Regions from separate parts of the Homo sapiens genome. Here regions 2 and 3 are each linked to region 1. The links are contacts of gene promoters, found by promoter capture Hi-C in blood cells and fetal thymus (Javierre and others, 2016). All regions are on one chromosome and are shown on one strand. Each heading gives the region's core, a stretch centred on a gene start or on the middle of the fragment in contact. The rest is flanking DNA. Distances are from core to core; before and after follow the strand shown.

Region 1 (2,700 bases), core at 142-2,641:
CAAAAATCCCCCCAGGTTTAACATCATCGCTGGATGGAAACGCCTCCTTTTTACATCCTAGTTATGCTTCTGCTTAACTCCACCTTAAAAAGCATCTGAGATCACATGCAAACAGCCATTCTCATGTAACACAGTACAATCTGCGGGAACATAAAAAGGCCTCCATTTCGACTAAGCTGTGACTGGTAGGGAAATGCCTGACAAGAAAACACAAGCTGTGCTGCCTCAGCCGCCGTGAGATTCCATCAGACCGAGGGCAATCAGCAGGTTTGCCTCTGCGGCCATCCTGGAAGTGCTGAAGAACGAACCCGAGCCCTCTCCGCCGCCCACCCCGCCTGGATAAGCAAACTTCTCAGGCACACCCCCGTTCGTCTTCATTTTTAAGGGCAACCTAGGGAACTGTTCTCTACAACTAATCGTTGCTTCGGCAACCATGGCTTACTTCAAAGCAGCACTTCCTTAAACGCAGCGCTCGCCCACAATTTGCCATTAAGCAAGAGAGCGCGAGCGAACGCCAGGCTCGCCCCGGCCTCCCTTTTCCTCGCTATTCAAATACTCGGTTAACCTTCGCCCTGGTCCCCATGGCTACCGCGCTCCGAGGCGTTTCCGCGGGGGCTGGCGAACCGGGCAGCTCCGCGAAGGAGGGGGGCGCGCGACCGGGGCGTCTGGCCCCATCCCCAGCGCGTCCCCCGAGAGCCGGCGGCCCCGGAGGGTGCACAGCCGGGAAGCGACACACGGCCGAGGGGTGCCGGGATCGGGCCGCCCCCGCCCCAGAGCGCGCGATGACTCACAAATGCAGCAGCTGAAGCCTGAGTCAGCCCGAGCGGCGGGCACGCGCGACGCGCTCCCGCCATGCCGGGGAGGGGGCGAGGCCGGGCCGGGGAGCGCGCGGGGAGGGGGCGGCCGGCGCCCGGGCCCGCGCCCGCCCGCCGTCCGCCCAAACTGCGCCACACGCCGCGGCGGGGTCACGCGGCGGCCGCCGCCATCTTGTGCGGCCGCCATCTCCTGGCCCGCCGCGCCCGCGACTCACCGTTTTCGTCAAATAAAGACATAAACCCAACGCTGCTCGCCCGGGACTGGGATGAAGTGAGGCGCGATATAAACCCGAGTCCGAGTCCGAGGAGGCGGAGGCGAAGCGCAGCGAGGAGCGGCCGGGCCAGGTGCCGCCGCCGAGCAGCGGGGAGGGGCTGTCCCAGCGACGTCCGCGGTCCACACCCGTCAGCGCCGGAGCTGGGCGACCTGGCGCGGAGAGACGGCGCCGTGAGCCGTGGGCGGTCGGGGAGTGCACCTTCCCCGCCAGCCAGCGGCCCGAGGGGTCGAGGGGGCGGGAAGCACCGGGCAGGGGGCCGCCCCTTCACCGGACTCACCTCTGGAATGTTCTCGCTCTGACTGAACAACGCCGCCGCCGCGCTCAAGCTACCCTCGGCCCCAGCGTCCGCCCCCCGCGTCAGGCCTCACTGCCCATTGGCTGGAGGCCTGCCACAGCTCGCTCGTCATTGGTTCGCTTGCGACGTCAATCGCATCTTTCCGCGCCCCTTCTGCTTCCTGAGGCTCAACTCGCGGCCTCGGCCCGCCTCCAGCCCCGGTCTCGCTTCCTTCCTCTCCCCTCCCCCCGCCTTTCCCAGAGGTCTTCGCGGCGCAGCCCTTGGGTCTCGCGAGACCCGGAGTGGCCCTGGTGGCGGGGCCGGGGTACCGGGGGCCGTTCTTTGTCGGTTTGGGCCTTGAGGGGGAGATGGTGGTTGGTCCCCTCCCTCGCCGGGTCTGGGACAGGCCGCGGCGTCATGGCGACTCCCGGGACGCAGGAGCCATCGTCCTCGAAACTGCTTTCGAGGCCGTGTTTTTGCGGCTGCCACCTTCGGGGAGAGGAACCCGACCGCGTTCTCCCCGCAGCGGGCGCTCATCTCCCTTTCCCGTTCTCCCGGGACGCCCGACTCCGGGCCTCGAGGAATGAGTTGTTTTTCCACCTTAAGCCCCAGGCCTGGGTCTTTCATCCCAGGGACGTCTTCTGTTTCGGACTCGGGGTGGATTGGCCGCTGGCGGAACGAGTCCGTGACTCGCCAGTGACCGCCCAGGGCGGTCGCGAGGCCGCGCCGCCTCGGTGTCGGCCCGCAACCCAGCCTGCGCGCTTAGCTCAGCGCGTCGCCTCCCGTTTTCGGAAGAGGAGGCCCTTAATTGGTTTGGAATCCTGGGGCCTCCTGAAGGCGCTTCGTGGTGGGTTCCCACCTTCTGGTGAAGGCCTCCCTGCTCTCCCAGGGTTGAAAAGCGCTATCCTTCGTGCTTCTCTTGTCACCTTTCTCCTAGTGGGCATCACGTCGAGTCCACCCCCTCTAGTTTATGACTTGTGAATTCTTTGATAAGCAAATCGTAGCCCAGAGCAGGCATTTATAATGAGATTCCAATGTATTCCGTTGAAAATTACTATTATTTAGGCCGGTCGCGGTGGCTCACGTCTGTAATCCCAGCACTTTGGGAGGCTGAGGTGGGCGGATCACCTGAGGTCGGGAATTTGAGACCAGCCTGGCCAATATGGTGGAACCCTGTCTCTACTAAAAATACAAAAAATTAGCTGGGCGTGGTGGCTCGCTTGTAATCCCAGCTACTCGGGAGGCTGAGGCAGGAGAATCCTTGAACCCGGGAGGCACAGGTTACAGTGAGCCGAGATCACACCACTGCACTCCAGCCTGGACAACAGAGCGAGAC
Region 2 (2,700 bases), core at 113-2,612, 1.0 Mb after region 1:
GAATCACACTGGTCTTCCTAAACCTTAGCAAGACAACTCTCCAGTCTTGATGATTAACTGGATACAACCCTAAGCAGCTAACATCAGTCAAAAAAACTCAACGAGTGAAGGTTCCTGATTCTATTCCCTAACCCGTTTCTTCTAGTGGAAAAAGCTGTCTTCTTTTGGCAATTTTGGGGTGAGACTAATTTTGTTTACAACCCCAGCGCTGAAATGGGGTGGAATTTTACAGATGCCGTGTAGGCCCTCTGGCTTCAGGCGCTATGCTTCACCCTCCGGAGTTGGGCGACCGTCTTCTAGTTATCACCCCCCTAGCAACCAAAAGGTGTGTGGCCCAGGAAATAAACCCACTGGGAAAGGATGTTTTGTAGTATACAGAGTGCTTTCACATATTCCAAACATTGTGTATCAGGCACTGTGCTGGGTACTGCGGTTACAAATCAGTCACTATCACCCAGGATGTTAAGTCCTGCAGCGAACTAGTGTATTGTGCTTGACTTTGTTCCAAGCCTGGGCCTTGGCACCTTACAACTGAAAAGCTAAGTTGGTTCCTTTTAATTCATTTATGTTTCAGCTCCAGTGTCTGGCCTACGGGACCACCCACTCTAAAGCAGCCCCCGTCAATCCCAGAACCTGCCTTATGTTCGTTCTTCAGCAAGTGTGTTCAAGGCTTCACCTCCTGCACATAGTGGGGAGTGCTGGGAACACGGTCTCTAAGTGCTCCACAAAGGCTGAACCAGCGGTGAAAGGCCTGTAAGAAGAGCTAGGGAGCACGCAAAAGCCCCCAGCAGGGCTGTGAAGGCAGAGAAGGCACGAGGGCGTTCCAGGCACAGGGCCCAGCGTGAGCAACCGCTCCTAGAGTGAGGCTCCTGGGGTGAAAATGCCAGGGTGGTGACAGGTGGGGGCCGAACGCCGTCCCTAAGAAGCTCAGCCTGGGGACGCCCTGAGTCTTAACCCGGGCGGATACTGGCCTCCCCGGACAAGCAGCTACCCCGCCGCGGGGCGTCGGCCCCCTTCGGGCCTCAGTTTCCCCACGTCCCTCCCGACGCCTCACCTGGGGCGGGAGCAGGCGCGGCAGGCGCGGGGGCTCGGTGCCCCGGCCCCGCTGCAGGGCGGCCTGTTGGGCCGCGTCCCGCAGCCGCCGCGCCGCGTCCCGCAGCACGAAGGGGGGCGGCGGCGGCGGCGGCTGCGCCTTCGTCACCTGCTCCAGGACCTGCCGCAGCTGCTCGGGGCCCAGCGGGGCCACACGTGCGACGCTGCCGCTCTGGCCCGGAGGAGCCGGGCCGCCGCCGCCGCCGCCATCCTCGCTGCCGCCCCCAGCCTCCGGCTCCGCATCCGCCATGGCGGCCGAGGCGGGGACTCGAACCCGGGTCGCTGAGCGACGGCGTCTCCAATGTACGTCACCTAGGAGAGGGGCGGGCTACGAGTGCCTCGCAGGCCAAGACACCTAGGAAGGCGACCGTGTCTGGCCGGGAAAGTCGTGGAGTGCCCCGCCCCAGCCGACAACCGCCGCGGCTCTTAGGGCTGATCAGCAGAGCGGACCCCCCTTATTTTCCTTATTGCCTGTCACGGATGTGTTTAAGACTCACCTTCTCTGGGAGCTGTCCCGGATCTCCCAGGGGGAGGTCTTCGGGGTTTCAGAGCCCCTGGCCCAAAAGTTACCACAATATCCAAGTGTTCTGACGTCATCATGCATCCGAATCAGCGGAGGATGCTGTCTGGAGATGCAGAGTACTGTGCCCACCCCTAAACATTTGGATTTATACATCTGGGAGGGGACCACAGTTTGAATTGTTAACGAGAGTGTTTCCCAAATTTTTGCCTTGTCACCGTAGCTTCTCTCTACCCACCCACCCAGATTGGGTGCACCTTGAAGGGAGAGATGATATATTACACAATCGGTGCCCAGCACAGGCCCTGCCCAGAACACAACGCACGCTCAGGGCATGAATGATGGATGGATGAATATGAATAAACGAATGAGTGAACGAATGAATGAACCCACCCTCTCTCTATCCATCCAGCTCCACTGCCCCATCTTCCTCAGCCTGATCGCCTCTCCTTCTTACGGTTGAGGCTCTGTGCGCCCTCCGAATCTTGTAGCTGCAGGTGTGTACACATGTCCCAGCTCCTTTCCCCAGGGAGAGCAGGAGGTCCACTGGTCCACAAACCCTTCTTAAGCACCTGGTGGGTGAACCGCTGTTTCCGCCCTGGGGGGTATACAGTCTAGGTGCCGACCCCCAAGGAGGAAACTTCCCAAGGGGGAAGGAGGAAACTGGCATTTGCAGCACAGTATGATGAGCGCCGAAGCCGGTAAAGTAAGGCTGGCGGCCTGGGTGGCGTCAGAGAAGGTTCTGGAAGATCACCACCATCCTCATCAATACTCACATTGCATTCACGATGATCCCTTCCGTGTTATTTTTTAATGGTGAATTTTATATTATGGGTATCTTACCACAATTTTTTTTTTTTTTTGAGACAAGATCTCACTCTGTCACCCAGGCTGGAGTGCAGTGGCACAATCTCAGCTCACCGCAACCTCCATCGCCTGGGTTCATGCGGTTCTCCTGCCTCAGCCTCTTGAGTAGCTGGGATTACAGGCGTCCGCCACCATGCCTGGCTAATTTTTGTATTTTTAGTAGAGACGGGGTTTCATCATGTTGGTAAGGCTGGTCTTGAAACCCTGACCTTAGGTGATCC
Region 3 (2,704 bases), core at 143-2,642, 1.2 Mb after region 1:
TCACTCCTGTAATCCCAGGATTTTGCGACACCGAGGCAGGCACATCACTTGAGGCCAGGAGTTTGAGACCAGCCTGGTGAACATGGTGAAAGCCCATCTCTACTAAAAATACAAAAAAGTCAGCCAGGTGTGGTGACGCATGCATGTAATCCCAGCTACTTGGGAGACAGAGGCATGAGAATTGCTTGAACCCAGGAGGCGGAGGTTGCAGTGAGCCAAGAGCACGCGACACTGCACTCCAGCCTGGGCGACAGAGCGGGACTGTCTCAAAAAAAAAAAAATCAGTAACAAAAAAAATCTGAAAAACCTCCAACTATTTGAAAAGTAAAACATGTAAAAATAACCCATGAGTCAAGAAATAAAAGGAAATTTTAAAAATATTTTGAGCTGAATGAAAATGAGAAAATGTATCAAAATGAATGAGCCAAGGGCAGTTGTGGTGGCTCACACCTGTAATCCCAGCACTTTGGGAGGCCACAGTGGGAGGACTCCTTAAGTCCAGGAGTTCAAGACCAGCCTGGGTAATATGGCAAGACCTCATCTCTACAAAAAAAATAAAATTTAGCTGGGTGTGGTGGCACATGCCTGTGGTCCCAGCTCCTCAGGAGGCTGAGGCAGAAGGATCACTTGCGCCCAGGAGGCTGATGGTGTAGTGAACCATGTTTGTGCCACTGTGCTCCAGCCTGGGCAAGAGAGTGAGACTGTCTCTTTTTTTGTTTGTTTGTTTTTTTGAGACAGTCTCACTCTGTTGCCCAGGTTGGAGTGCAGTGGTGCAATCTCGGCTCACTGCAGCCTCTGCCTCCTGAGTTCAAGCAATTGTCCTGCCTCAGCCTCCCGAGTAGCTGGGACTACAGGTGTGTGCTGCCACACCCAGCTAAATTTTTTTGTATTTTTTGTAGAGATGGGGTTTCACCATGTTGTCCAGGCTGGTCACAAACTTCTGACCTCAATTGATTGGTCTGCCTCAGCCTCCCAAAGTGCTGGGATTACAGGTGTGAGCCATTGCACCCAGCTGAGACTGTTTATCAGGATAAAACAAAAATCATGAGCCAGACCTGGGTGTAACTGCCCTGGAGGCCCTTGCTCTGGGTGACCCTGAGTAAAGGACTTACCTCTCCTAAGCCTCAGTGTTCTCAACTGTACAGTGGGACCAAAGACACCTACTTCAGAGTCGAGAGGACTAAGAAACTGCATGCAAAGTAGCTAGCCTGCTGCCTGGCAAGCAAGTGAGGGGGCATAAATTGCTATGGGGTAGGCTATCACCTGAGCCATCTCCAAAACCAGAAGTGGCTCATTTAAGCTTCATAACCACTCTATGAAGAAGACATGTTCATGTCTATGCTACAGATACTGAACTGGATGCATAGAAAGGGTAAGTGACTTGCCCTGGGTCACACAGGCAGTGGCTGAGCTAAGATCTGAATCCAGGCCACCTGGATCCAGAATCCATGCTCCAGCTTTACTGAGGGACACTGAAAGCTTTCAAATAGAGGAGGAAAATGGTCAGATTGCCCTAACAGCAACATCACTGTGGGACGAGGTCAACAAATATTTAGGATGCTAAATCTGCAAGGCTTGGTGATCTATTAGAAATACGTTGTTGAGGCCAGGCACTGTGGCTCACGCCTCTAATCCCAGCACTTTGGGAGGCCAAGGCGGGCGGATCACAAGGTCAAGAGATCAAGACCATCCTGGCTAACACGGTGAAACCCCCTCTCTACTTAAAGAATACAAAAAATTAGCCAGGTGTGGTGGCGGGCGCCTGTAGTCCCAGCTACTAGGGAGGCTGAAGTAGGAGAATGGCGTGAACCCGGGAGGCGGAGCTTGTAACAAGCCAAGATCGCACCACTGCACTCCAGCCTGGGCGACAGAGCAAGACTCCGTCTCAAAAAAAAAAAAAGAAATATGTTGTTGAGGAAGGAAGAGGAGGAGGCTGGACAGAAAAGGCGGTGAAGCAGGAGTGGAAGAACTTGGGGTTGGAGGGCTAGAGGAAGCAGAGGAGCACATGTGGTCTGTACTCTGAAGGAGAGGGCACCACATTCTGAGAACCTCTCCATGACAGGACACCTGGCCTGGTGGGAGGCAGGTGGGGTTCCTAAGAAAATGTGTGAGCAGAAGATCCATTAAAAATTAATTAGAGAAGAACAGAGGGAATGGTGTTCCAGGCAGAGGGAACAGCATTTGCACAGCCTCGTGGGGGCGAGTCATGGGGAGTGCGCCAGACACAGAAATAGGAGCACAGTGGGAACTGGCGCTGTATGGGGAGGCAGCAGCGACCTGCAGGGCCTCACAGGCCTAAAGAGCTCTGTCTTCCTCCTAGAAGGATGGGAAGTCAGCTAGAATTTGCAGAGGGTGGGGAGGAGGGAATAGATAGGGCCAGGTCTGTGTTCTCAAAGCTCACCCTGGCTACAGTTTGGAGACAGACCAGACCATATGCAGGGAGCAGTTAGGTGGTTATGGAGGCCTTCCAGGTGAGCTGACGGTTGTGTGGAAGCGGGGGATGAAGGTGGAGGGAAGTGGCTGGGTTCAAGAGGTACTTAGGAGGCAGAAGTGGCAGGACTCAGTGCCAGATCCGTTGTGGGGATGCTTGGGGTTCTTTAAGGTGGGATAGTCAGTGACCTGGCTAACGAGCCCTCAAAGAGGGCTGGAGACAGGGGGGAAGCTCATGAGGCTCAGCATCCAGGTCTGGAGCTGAGTCCTGGCC

Evidence for each region. The method cuts DNA at HindIII sites, captures the fragments that hold promoters and counts their contacts. A CHiCAGO score of 5 or more calls a contact.
Region 2: the fragment with the promoter of ZNF839 here is called in contact with the fragment with the promoter of EIF5 in region 1 in 5 of 17 cell types (naive CD8 T cells, total CD4 T cells, monocytes and 2 more); the score reaches 9.8 in naive CD8 T cells.
Region 3: a fragment that was not itself captured here is called in contact with the fragment with the promoter of EIF5 in region 1 in 1 of 17 cell types (activated CD4 T cells); the score reaches 5.8 in activated CD4 T cells.

The regions. Positions count from the first base shown.
Region 1 is chr14:103,332,928-103,335,627 of GRCh38, reverse strand. EIF5 (eukaryotic translation initiation factor 5) reads right to left here and starts at 1,391. Exons shown (of 12, transcript NM_001969.5): 1 at 1,368-1,391; 2 at 1,031-1,239. It overlaps EIF5-DT (EIF5 divergent transcript), which reads left to right and starts at 968. Exons shown (of 1, transcript NR_158216.2): 1 at 968-2,700. RefSeq lists silencers at 536-775, 886-935, 1,076-1,495 and an enhancer at 1,816-1,935. The HindIII fragment of the contact is 3,190 bases long and covers 1-2,700 here.
Region 2 is chr14:102,318,408-102,321,107 of GRCh38, reverse strand. It overlaps ZNF839 (zinc finger protein 839), which reads right to left and starts at 1,362. Exons shown (of 8, transcript NM_018335.6): 1 at 1,055-1,362. The coding sequence starts at 1,342. RefSeq lists an enhancer at 743-852 and silencers at 953-1,142, 1,203-1,302. The HindIII fragment of the contact is 5,518 bases long and covers 1-2,700 here.
Region 3 is chr14:102,089,651-102,092,354 of GRCh38, reverse strand. It overlaps a transcript of HSP90AA1 not described here. Among named protein-coding and RNA genes, the nearest start is that of HSP90AA1, 4.0 kb to the right of the region's middle. The HindIII fragment of the contact is 179 bases long and covers 1,303-1,481 here.